Linked DNA regions of Homo sapiens: regions 2 and 3 are each linked to region 1. The links are contacts of gene promoters, found by promoter capture Hi-C in blood cells and fetal thymus (Javierre and others, 2016). All regions are on one chromosome and are shown on one strand. Each heading gives the region's core, a stretch centred on a gene start or on the middle of the fragment in contact. The rest is flanking DNA. Distances are from core to core; before and after follow the strand shown. Region 1 holds the start of DHRS7C (dehydrogenase/reductase 7C). Region 2 overlaps MYHAS (myosin heavy chain gene cluster antisense RNA). Region 3 overlaps MYH13 (myosin heavy chain 13).

What was found. Contacts are between HindIII fragments. The CHiCAGO score rates a contact against its expected background, and 5 or more counts as called.
Region 2: a contact is called between a fragment that was not itself captured here and the fragment with the promoter of DHRS7C in region 1, in 1 of 17 cell types (monocytes). The highest score is 5.0, in monocytes.
Region 3: a fragment that was not itself captured here is called in contact with the fragment with the promoter of DHRS7C in region 1 in 1 of 17 cell types (neutrophils); the score reaches 5.0 in neutrophils.

What each region holds. Positions count from the first base shown.
Region 1 is chr17:9,789,387-9,793,535 of GRCh38, forward strand. It overlaps DHRS7C (dehydrogenase/reductase 7C), which reads right to left and starts at 2,206. Exons shown (of 6, transcript NM_001105571.3): 1 at 1,745-2,206. The coding sequence starts at 1,898. The HindIII fragment of the contact is 16,411 bases long and covers 1-4,149 here.
Region 2 is chr17:10,428,403-10,432,551 of GRCh38, forward strand. The region is part of intron 2 of MYHAS (myosin heavy chain gene cluster antisense RNA); the gene reads left to right. Among named protein-coding and RNA genes, the nearest start is that of MYH8, 8.5 kb to the left of the region's middle. The HindIII fragment of the contact is 721 bases long and covers 1,557-2,277 here.
Region 3 is chr17:10,305,883-10,310,031 of GRCh38, forward strand. It overlaps MYH13 (myosin heavy chain 13), which reads right to left. Exons shown (of 41, transcript NM_003802.3): 34 at 3,640-3,948; 35 at 3,352-3,555; 36 at 1,057-1,182; 37 at 577-747. All of the region lies in intron 1 of LOC107985004 (a long non-coding RNA gene), which reads left to right. Among named protein-coding and RNA genes, the nearest start is that of MYH13, 65 kb to the right of the region's middle. RefSeq lists an enhancer at 3,536-4,050. The HindIII fragment of the contact is 3,024 bases long and covers 165-3,188 here.

The DNA of each region.
Region 1 (4,149 bases), core at 956-3,455:
TCCCTGATCACATGTCACTTTTAGAGGTTATTCATTAAATACACATTTTCTGAGGATGTCAACCAAGCATTGAGCTAGGTGCTGAGGCTGCCTGGGTGAACAAAACACAGGCTCCAGCACCAGGAAGCCTGTATCTAGTGGACCCACTGAGAAACACACAGATACAGCATGAGAAATACACTAATGTGGTGTGCACTTACAAGGGGCCAGTTAAGAAGCTGGTCCACAAGGACCATTCAAGAGGAAGGAGCAATTAAGGTGTCAGGACAGGCTCCAGGGTAGAGGCCGTATCAGGGATCGCATGTTAGCAGCCTGGTGCAATGCCAGACAAAGGTGCGCTATTTGGAGAGCAAATTTTTCGCAAAGCCTTCTGTTCTGAATAGCTTTAGGTGGGCATCTCTTTTCCAGCTCTCCAGGGCGGCACACTCCCTGTTGTCTTTTGTCTGGTCTGATTGACAGATGTGTGTGCCCTGGCTTGCCCTTGAAGAAGGAGTTTGAGTTTGTGTACCTCGCTCCCTTTTGATACAGGATATCCTCTCTGGGAATTGTGTGTGAGACTCATCTAGGGGCCACTTAGAGAGCCTAGTCTATCTGCCTTATGCTTTGTTTTTTATCTTAACAAGATGCACCTGGGTCGATCACCCACTGAAAACTAAGCCATCCTCAAAGCGTGCAGATTGGCTCCCATTGGGATGCCGAAGAGGCTAAGCAGCAGGCTCTGAGAAAATTCTCAGGGAGGTTACAAACGTTCTCACGATGGCAGCACTATGAGAGTAAGTGCCCAGCCCCCCAGAGGGACTCTCGGGGCAATGCTCAGGACATAGTGGACTCAGTGGACACTTACTGAGTTACTAATGAATGTTTGGCTGTGTGGGATCTATGCTCTATTAAAAATAATAAAAACAACAGCAAAAGTTGCACTAACTATGTAACATATAAAGTTGTACTACCATTGTCTGGAAGGATAGAGTCAGAATCTTGCAAACTTAAGGACAATTACGGCCCCTCATGTCATAGATGTCACCAGCAGAAGGGCCTCTCTGAGGTGATATAATTCAGGAGTTGCAAATGCAAATGCCTTCAATGCCAGAAAGTGTAATGATTGAAAGAATCAGGCCAAGTGTGATGCAATAGGGATGGGTGGGGTGTGTGGCCCACTAGCGTGGGCATGTTTTGCCTATATGTGTTCATGATCATCATTACTAACCCTTGAGTGATATCCACTGTAGCTCCAGGTACTGTTCTAAGTGCTATCCATCTATGAACTCGTTTATTCCTCACAATGGCAGCATGAGGTAGAGACTGCTGTTATCCTCGCCTTACAGATGAGAAGTTTAAGGCAGAGAAGTGAAGTAACCAGCTAGTCATTGCTGGAGCCAGGAACTGAACCCAGCTCCTGAGTCTGGGCTCACAACCAGTACATTGCCCCAGCTAAAGGCTTTGAATTTTCAAAATTTCTGGAAACCCCATGAAGCCAAAACAAATCACATCTGCAGACCAGTTTTAGCCCTTAGGCTGTGAGTTTGCAACCCTAGATATTCCACCACCCTCATTTATCAGGAATCTGCAGCCTCCAAAAGATGGGAAACTTGCTGGTTAATGATAGAAGCTGGGAGAGAACACAGGATCGATCCCCTCCCACCGAGCAGGTTTGCCCACACAGCGCCCTGCCGCCCTGCCACCCTGCCATCCTGCCAGTCCCTGGGGGCAGAAATGGGCACAGGTGGGAGCAAAGCCAGCTTACCCTTGCCCAGTCCTGAGATGGCATCGGTGATCACCACCACTTTGTTCTGCACAGCTGACTTTGACCACAGCCTGGACACCTCTTGGTAAATGAAGAGGAGGCCGCTGATTCCCAGCAGCAGCAGGGGGAGCATCAGCATGGCCATGACTCCCATCTTGTTCTGGGGGACAACGGAGTAAAAGGGGATTGGCTTTGCAAAGAGACGCTGATCAGGACTCCCAGGGCAGGGGGAGGCCCAAGGCTGCAGGGAGCTCAGCTCTGTGCAAGCCTCCAAGCTGAACACCCAGTGGGCGTGCTAATCCCCAAATGTTCAACAAATAGGAAGTTACTCACAGTGTCTCCGAAAGCAGACCGAATCCAGGGGGCCTGCCCTCCCCAGTGGTTAATTACAAACTTAATTAAAATGGGTCTGCATTTTTGGAAGAAAATCCATGTGTTAAGGCCACTTGCTTGGGCCCTAATGGTTATTTATAGCTTTCAGTTGCACTAAAAGGCTGTCAGGGTAAATATAGTGTCTATTCTGATATTCAGGAACACATGCTGGCCGGGTCTGATTTCAGGGCTCTTGCCAAAGCTCTCCTGGCTTGCCTGAGTATTAGAGGTTTCCTCTGCAGTTTGGGACTGAGCACGAGGGATCCAAACCTGGGATTTTCAGCACAAACATCCTTGCCCTCACTTCCGGTAACCCTCGTAATCAGGTAGCTTCCAGGTAGTTTGGATGCATGTGGCAGAAGACCATCTGGCCTTTGCTTTCTAATTGGAGATGAAAAGCATAGAAAACTGCTAAACAGAATGAAGCCTTTTGCAGAAAGAGCCACTGGGAGGTGTGACAGGAAATATCAGAAAGAGCACACTCTTGAGAGTGTTTCTCACCTCTCTGAGCCTTAGCTTCCCTGTCTGTAAAATGGGCAGGACCAATGGGAGGACAAACCATACTGCACAGTGTGGGCCTAGCATAGATCCCGGGCCGTAGGAAGGTAACTACTGTTATCTTTAGCGGTTGAGGATACTAAGAATTTATCCCAAATGTGAAATATTTTCATTACATAAGGAAACTCAGTAGGATTAGAACTGGAGAGACAGAAACCCAGTTCAAGTACTGGAGCCATCCCAAACCAGAAGGCCAATCACAATCAGGTCCTAATTTGTGCGGTAAACAGCATTGAGCCAATCAGGAGTAGGACTAAGAGCAGTGTGTGTGCATGTGTGTGTGTGCGCGCATGTGTGTGTGTGCATGTGTGTGTGCGTGTGTGCGTGCGTGTGTGTGTGCGCACCTGTGTGTGTGCACGTGTGTGTGTGTGTGTGTGTGCGTATGTGGGGGGGGTAAAGAAGACTGTATTTCTTTCTTGGAAATTAGAAATAACCAGGAAGATTAAAAAAGTCCCAGAATTTTATTGACACTTAATGTACATATTAGAAACACACACGTAAATGTAGAGCTTGATGAATCTTCATAGACTGAATATATTCACGTGACCAGCATGCAGATCAAGAAACAGAACATTGCCAACATGCCTCATCATGTCTCTCTCCAGCCCTGAGGGTAGCTACTTCCTAACTTTTAAAAGCGTATATACAGTTTTACCTGTATGTGTATTTTCTTTGCTCAAACAACCTCTTGTGTAAAGTTTTTCTTTTTTTTTTTTTTTTTGAGACAGTCTTGCTCTGTCACTAGGCTGAGGTGCAGTGGCACGATCTCGGCTCACCGCAACCTCCACCTCCTGGGTTCAAGCAATTCCCCTGCCTCAGCCGCGCCGAGTACCTGGGACTACAAGCCCCCACCACCACGCCCGGCTAATTTTTGTATTTTAGTAGAGACGAGGTTTCACCATATTGGCCAGGATGGTCTCAATCTCCTGACCTTGTGATCCGGCCACCTCGGCCTCCCAAAGTGCTGGAATTATAGGCATGAGCCACCGTGCCTGGCCAAGTTTTTTTTAAATAAATTATTATCTGTGTTCAATGCTGCTGATTGGTCAAGTAACGTAGGGTCTGAGAAGTGCCTGTCAGCTTTAGTGATGTGGAGTCATTGGTGACATTGACGGGCACCTCTGTGTGAAGACTATTGTGTGGTTTCTGCTCTCCCTCAGACTTACTGTCAGTGGCTCTGTCATGAGCCAACCCTGCAAGATGGTTCCTGACTCATCCAAACCCCCGGGACTTGATGCTTTGAAAGCATCTGCCTACCTGGCTATTTGGATGATGGTCTCGACAAGCCTAAAAGATGCTCCAAGTTTTTAGCCTACAAGTTCCTCAGAACTTGGTTGAATAACACTAGACAACTTCGATTTTGCCTCATGTCCCTGATGATGGAGAAGAGGCAGGACAGGATGGTGGGTTCTTTGTCATGGAATTATGTTTGAATTTGGACAAAGTTCCCTGGGAGCTTTAGTTGAACTAATGAA
Region 2 (4,149 bases), core at 667-3,166, 640 kb after region 1:
TGGCAGGCTTGGACAAACTATTAGCAACTTAAATAAAGAAGTTATATTCAACACACACACACACACACACACACACACACACACACACACACACACACACACATCTCTTTCAAATAGAAAAGAAAGGGAGATACAAGCAAGTAGGAAAAAATAGCCAAAAGATAGAAATAGATAATTCATGGAAGAGGCAATACATATGGCTAATAAACATGAAAACATGCTCAATCTCAAGAGGTACAAAATAAAATAACAAAGAGCTAGTGTATTTTACCCATCAAGTTGGCAAAAAAAAAATAATAATGGTAGCAAATGGTGGTGCAGAGAGGTGAATGTAATATGTTGTGAGTAAAGGTGTAAATTTCCAGGGCAATTTGTTATATCTTTTGAAATTTAAAATTGCAGTGATTTCACTTCTCACTTTCTTTCCTGCAGAAGCACACTGAAATAGGAAGGATGCTCAAGAGTGTACATTTAACATTTCTTCTAATAGCAAAATTTTGGAAACAACTGTCAATTCAGTTACTTGTAAGTTAATTAAGTGGCCACCTGTTAAGTGGTGGTGCTCCGATGATGTGGTCAGTGGTTGAAACTTGAAACTCGCCTTAATCTAAGATTTGGATCAGCATAATGCATTTTCCACTGGTTCTCTTTGAGATATACTGAAAACTGAAAATCTTATTTAAAATAACAATAAACAATGAAGTAAAGAGTTTTTATAGGTAACATATATAAGAATACTAAACTGGGAGATATATTTTGCTAAAGCCTAATTATTGGTATATTTCAACCCTTCTGTAATGTACAGATATCTCTTCTACCATTCTTGTGTGACAACTCATTTATTTTAACTTAGAGTAAAGGCCCTTCCAAGGGTCTGGCTTACATCCCTTGTCCTTGCTCTTCTTCGCTAGTATCCACTTACAATTAAGCCGAGGGTGAACATTAAGTTACCGTATCCAATGACCCTTCTGCTCTAAGAGTCCTTGCCAGAAATTAGCTTACAATTCCTAAGATTTCCTCTGCCCTAAGAGTTCCTCTATTTTCTCTCTGCAGTGAGTAAAAGCAGATGAATTACAGCCACTTTAAGACATCTCTACCTTTTCTAAAACTCTGTAATTATATTCTCTTCAACCAAAGGAAACAACTGACCTTTCATATGACTCATGCCAAAGAGGAATGTTATTTAGATTCATCCACATTCTTGCATGTATCAGTAGTTCATTTCTTTTTATTGGGGAGTAGTACTCCGTTGTGAGGATGTACCATATTTTATTCATCTGTTCTCTTGCTGGTATATATTTTTTATCTTTTTATAGACATATCTTTCATTTCTTTCAGTTAAATAACAAGGAGTGGAATTGTTGGATCAAGAGGTAGGTGTCTAGTAACTGTACTGTTTTACATCCTCGCTAGTGATATATGAGCAATGTGGTTGCTCAGTGTCATTAGTCTTTATAAATTTAGCCATTCTTGTTGGTTTGTAGTGGAATCTCTTTGTGGTTTTAAAATGTATGTCCCTAGACAATGATATTGAGCAACTTTTAGTTTTGTTATTAAGCTTTCATATATTCTCTTGATGAAATGTCTGTGTTTTGCCCATTTTTGTTGGATTATTTTTAAAGAATATTGTTTTGTTTGTGTTCTTTATAAGTCATTTTTTCAGTATATGTATTGCATATATTTTTTTTAGTAGGTGGCTTGCCTTTTTGTGTTCTTAACAGTACTTTGATGAGCAGTAGCTTTAACTTTGAAGAGGACCAGTTTTATCATTTTTTCTTTCATATTTAGTGCTTGCTGTGTTCTGTTTAAGAAATTTTGCACGAGATTACAAAGATACTCTCCTATATTTTCTTCTAGGAGATGTATAATTTTAGTATTTACATTTAAATCTGTTGTCTACCTTGAATTAATTGTTGTGTATGCGTTATTATTTTTTTCCATACAGATGTCTAATTGATCCATCATCATTTGTTGCAGAGACTTTTCTTTCCACATTGAATTGCATTAGCAACTTAGTAAAAAGTCCACTATATACATATTGGATCTATTTCCAGACTCTCCATTCTACTCTATTCTGTTCCATTCAAGTATTCTTCTACCCTTACACTAATACCACACTATCTTAATTACTGTAGCTTTGTAATAAATTTTAAAGTCTGTAGAGTAAGTTCTCCAATTTTATACTACTTACTTTTTAAGACTTCTTTGGCTACTGTAGGTACTTTATATACTTATATGCATTTTAATATCAAACTGCCAACTTCTACCAAAAAAAAAAGCTTGATAGGATTTTGATTAGGGTTACACTAAAACTATAGATCAATTTGTGGAAAACTGACAGATTTACAATATTGAGACTTCAGTCCAAGAACATGGTGTCTCTCTCTCTCCTCTCTCTTTTAGTCCCATTTTTTGACAGAAAGTGTTCACTGTTTTATTATTAAGCAAGATATCTTAGCTGTGCTTTATTTGTAGGTGCCTCTTACTAGATTGAGAAAGTTTTCTTTTATTGCTTGTTTGCTGAGAGGTTTTTTTTTCATGGATGGGTGTTGGATATTGTCAAATGCTTTACTTCATCTGTTGAGATAGTTATATGATTTTCTTTTTTATTCTGTGAATGTTATGAATTACCTGATTTTTGAATATTAAACCTACCTTGCATTCCTGTGATAAATTCCATTTGGTCATGATTTATTATTATTATTGTTGTTGTTAATATTGTTTTCATATATAGTAGGCACTGCATAATGACATTTTGGTTGACAGCGGACTGCATGTATTATGGTGGTCCCATAAGATTATAATACTGTATTTTTCCTGTACCTTTTCTATATTTAGATATGTTTAGATACACAAATACCATTCTGCTACAGTTACCTACAGTATTCTGTACGGCAACATACTGTCCAGGTTTGTAGTCTAGGAGCAGTAGGCTATACCACATAGCCCAGGTGTGTAGTAGGCTATACTGTCTAGGTTTGTGTAAGTACACTCTGTGATATTTGTACAATGAGGAAATTGTCTAATGATGCATATTTCAGAACATATCCCCATTGGTAAGCAACACACGATTGTATTGTTAGACGTTGTTGGATTTGACTTGCCAAAATTTTGTTAAGGATTTTTGCATCTATTAGGGATATTGGACTATAATTTTCTATATTGTTTTTCTATTCTCGATTTCATTAATTTCTCCTCTAGCCTCTATTATGTCCTTTCTTCTACTTGCTTTAGATTTCATTTGTTTTTCCCACCTGCTGTGCCTTAGGTGGAAAATTAGGTTATTATTTGAGCTCTTTCTTCTCTCTTTATATAGACATTTACAACTGTAAAGTTCTGTCTAAGCACTGCTTTAGCTGCATCCCATATGTTTTTGTATATTGTATATTGTATCTTCATGTTCATTCATCTCAGAGTACTTTCTGGTTTCCCTTTCGATTTTTTCTTTGACACATGATTATTTAGGAGTGTGTTGTTTAATTTCCACAAATCTGTGATTGTCTCAATTTTTTTCCTAGTATTGATTTCTAATTTCATTCCATTGTGGTCAGAGAACATACTTTGTATCATGCCTATCCTTCTAAGTTTACTGAAGTTTGTTTTATAGCCTAGCATGTGGTCTGTCCTGGAGAATGTTACATTTGAACTTGAGAAGGATGTATATTCTGTTGTTACTGGGTGGTGTGTTCTATAGATATCTGTTAGGTCTATTTGGTTTATAGTGTTTTTCAAGTCTTCCTTTTTTTCTTATTGATCTTCATTAATTGTTACATCCATTATTGAAAGTGGGTTATTGACATCTTCAATCATTATTGTGGAATTGTCAGTTTCTCCCTTTATTTCTGTCAGTTTTTGATTCATATGTTTTGGTGCCTCTGCTATTAGGCGCAAATATATGTATAAGTATTATGTCTTCCTGATGGGCTTATCCTTTTATTATTTTTTCATTATAAAATGTTTCTCCTTATCTCTGGTAACTTTTTTTTAAGTCTGTTTTGTCTCCTATCAGTATAGCCATTCCATTTTATTATGGTTCCTGTTTGCAAGATAATGTATTTTTTCATCTTTTTACTTATATTTGTGGCTTCTGTAGACAGCACATAGTTTGACCATATATTTTTATACATTATGACAATCTCTGGCTTTTGA
Region 3 (4,149 bases), core at 427-2,926, 520 kb after region 1:
AGCCCCGATCGCCCTCTTTTGGGGCTGGAGCAAGAGACATACCTGTGCCAGAATTGCAGCCTGCACTGACAGATGAGAAAAGCTGGGGAGGGAAGGAAACCTGAGATTGGGAGAAAACGGAAACTGCAGATTTTATGTAGGATGGGCTGTGTTGATCAAAGTGAAGCTTGGTCCAAAATGTAAATGCATCAAAATGAGTAATTTTATGACTGTAGAGTATATGTTAATAGTTTTTTCCATGTATGTGCGTGCATCTGAATCTGCATAGCAAATGGAATGTGAACATTAACATACATCATTATATTACATTTACTGAGGTGTGAGCATACCAAAATAGATGTGTGTGTGTGTGTGTGTGTGTGTGTGTGTGTGTGTGTGTGTGTGTGTTTTGGGGCATAGGAACAGGTGAAACAGAAAGAGGTGAGAAATGAAGCTCACAGGGAATTTTTCAAGCAGTCCTGAAACTGAATTTGCAATCTATTCATTCAGTGGCCTTTTCCCACCATCTCAGTTTCTGGACTGTGGTTCTGTCCGAGGCTGTCACTTTCAGAGTAACAGTCCTCTCAAAAACTCTACCCGGTTCTCCAGTTTCTGGATCTGCTTCTTCCCGCCCTTCAGCGCCAGTTGTTCAGCCTCATCTAGACGGTGCTGCAGGTCCTTCACCGTCTGCTCCAGGTTCTTCTTCATCCGCTCCAGGTGGGCGCTGGTGTCCTGTTCCTTCTTTAGCTCCTCAGCCATCATGGCAGCCTGGTTAAGTTCACAGGACACATCAGAGGCCCTGTCCGCCCATCCCTACCCAGAGCTTGCAGAAGAGGCGAAGGCTGGGATCATGGTGCTGAGCCTCCCCTGTCTGACTGGGGCCAGTCATTGCTGATTCCCCACAGCCTCCCCTCCCACTTTGCCACTGCTGAGACTGTACCTCATTACATCTGTCTGGGAAGCCACCACTAACCGATTGTTGTCATAAGAGATGAAACATACTTGCCACACCCTGGCTCAGAGGCCCCACTTTCTCAGTTCCAAACCCCATCTCTGAAAAGGAAGAACAGAGCTCACATCCGTGATGGCCTTCTTGGCCTTCTCCTCTGCGTTCCTGGACTCCTGGATCGAGTTCTCCACCTCTGCCTGGCACTGAGCTATGTCAGCCTCCAGTTTTTTCTTGGTATTTATCAGGCTTGTGTTCTACAAGAAGAATTAGATATCAGGGGTGTGGGTTCTATTGGGGCGCTTAAAAAAATTGGGAGAGGGTTGGCTGGGGAGGGAAGTAAATTGTGATCCTGTTCCATTTCTTATTTTTCACATGGGTGACCTGCTGGGTACAGTACTGTACATTCTTTCTTTATTCTTAACTGAACAGAAAGTCCTGAAACAGACCCAAGAATTGTACATGAAAGAATTCAGTAAATGATAAAAGTAGAATTTCAAATATTTGAGGATGGATAGATTATTCAGTAAAAAGTCTTGGAACAAGGAAATGATGATAGACATACTATATGAAATGAAAAATAATTTAAATAATCAAAATATGCCATAAATAGAATTGTAAGGGGTGACGACAAACTGGAAAACATTTGCAATGTACATTACAGAAGAAAATATTCCCTTTCTTAACATACAAATAAGGCAAATCAATTAAAAAAAGGGCAAAAACTACAAATGGGTAAAATACTAGAAGAAATTCAAATGGCCAACAAATGTGATAAAATGTTCCACCTCATTAGCAATAAAAAAAATACTAAAAACTCAGTGAGGTATGTTTCAGCAATAAAATTGGTGAAGATTTTTAAAATAAGAGCTAGAGTATTTGAGAATTTATAGAAGAGAACTCTCACACGTTTCCCCAGTGGAAATAAAAATTGGGACAACCTTGTTAAAGAACAATTTATATTACAAATACTTTTGCTGTTTGGACCTTGAAATTTCATTTTTAGAAATTTATTTACTTCTAGAAATATTAAGATTATAGTAATCATAGAAGTATATGAAAATTTAGTTATGAGGAAGTTCATCAAAATAGTCTTTCTAAAAGTAAAATTTTTATTGAGAACAATCTAAAATAACCACAGAAGACTGATTAAATGAAAGGGCCATAATATACAAGTAGAATAGCCTACTTTTCTGTCATTAAAAATCATATAGAAGACTATTTAAAGATGTCGAAGCTGGGCACAGTGGCTCATGCCTGTAATCCCAGAGCTTTGGGAGGCTGAGGCGGGCGGATCACCTGAAGTCAGGAGATCGAGACAATCCTGGCCAACATGGTGAAACCCCGTCTCTACAAAAATACAAAAATTAGCTGGGTGTGGTGACAAGCACCTGTAATCCCAGCTACTCAGGAGGCTGAGGCAGGAGAATCGCTTGAACCTAGGAGGCAGAGATTGCAGTGAACTGAGATCGCACCACTGCACTCCAGCCTGGCGACAGAAAGAGACTCTGCTCTGTCTCAAAAAAAAAAAAAAAAGATGTCAAAATATGTTCATGATTGTTAAATTCAAAAAAGAGGTTGCAAAAGATTGCTCATACTTTGACTATATATATATGTATTTATTTTTAATTAAAACTTTTTTTTTTTTTTTTTTTTTTGTAGAGACAAGGTTTTGCCATATTGCCCACGCTGGTCTCAGACTCCTGAGATCAAACAATCCCAAATTCCTGGGATTAGAGGCAAAAATATAATATTTATATAATTCACAATGGGCCTAAGAATGAGAGACCCCAGAATGTTAATAATATGCTTGACTTTTTTCTTCCATGTATTTACTTGTTTTTTCTATTTTTTTAAACAAAGGAGTTTTAAAAACTTTTATAAAAATAATTATTTTGTGTTTTTGTTGTTGTTGTTTGTTTGTTTATTTTTTTGGCAGGGTCTCCCTCTGTTGCCCAGGCTGGAGTGCAGTGGCATGATCATAGTTCATTGCAGCTTCAACTCCTGGGCTAAAGCAAACCTCCCACCTTGGCCTCCCAAAGTGCTGGGATTATAGGTGTGGCGCTGAGCCGGGTCAAAAATAATTATTTTGAAATAAAATCTTAATATTCTAAGGTTTCCACTTAAATAGTACTTCCAGGTGCCTTACGTAATAATTAATCCTTCGTTGCTCTGATTTCCCCACAACGTGCAAGATGTTTAATGTTTGGATGAGAGAAAGCTCAGAAATCTGTCAATCAAGAGTCAGTTATTCCAAGAAGCAAGCTTAAAAGAAAATTTGTCTTGACCACTAGTCTGGGAGAAACCGGGTGCTCCTTCCCACGGCGTGGGCCCTGAGTGGAGGGATAGCGGAAGCAGCTGCACGGTGCAGGAGGCGCTATCTGCCCCAGGGTGGACCTTCAGCGGAGGAGTGAGGGCCGACGCACCTGGGAGTGCAGGAGCTGCACGCGGTCGCTGGCGTCCAGCAGCTCCTGCTCTGACAGCCTGCGGGTCCGCTCCGTCTGTTCCAGGGCCACCTTCATTTCCTCCAGCTCCTCCAGCAGGAGGCCATTCCTGCGCTCCACGATGGCCAGCTGCTCCTTGAGGTCCTCATTGCTCCTCAGGGCGTCATCGAGATGCAGCTGGGAGTCCTGCAGGGGAGACCCAGAGTGAGGCCAGAGCCGCCTGGCAGGCTGGGGCCCGTCCAGGTACGCAGAGGCGGCCACCGTGCTCACCTTGAGCTGGCCCTGGACCGTGCGCAGATGCTTCTGGGTCTCTGCCATCTGGCGGTTGGAGTGGCCCAGCTGAATCTCCATCTCATTAAGGTCTCCCTCCATCTTCTTCTTTAGCCTCAGGGCGTCGTTCCGGCTGCGGATTTCAGCATCCAGCACGCTCTGCAGGGCCTCTGCTGCCCGCTGGCTGTTTCTTTTTAGCTGCTCGATTTCTTCATCCTTCTCAATGACCTTGCGGTCTAGCTCGGATTTCACCTGGCTCAGCTCTAGCTGCACGCGCAAGATCTTGCTCTCCTCGTGTTCCAAGGAACCCTGACGAAAGCAAAGGAGTGATTGAGAGTGCCGTGGACATCCACCTTCATGAATGGGTATTTTCATCCCCATACGATCAAATGGGTATGCGTTTTTTTAAAAAAATTAAATTTAAATTTTTTTTTTTTTTTGGTAGAGACAGGGTCTGTGTTGCCCAGGCTGGTCCTGAACTCCTGGGCTCCAGTGATCCTCTCTCCTTGG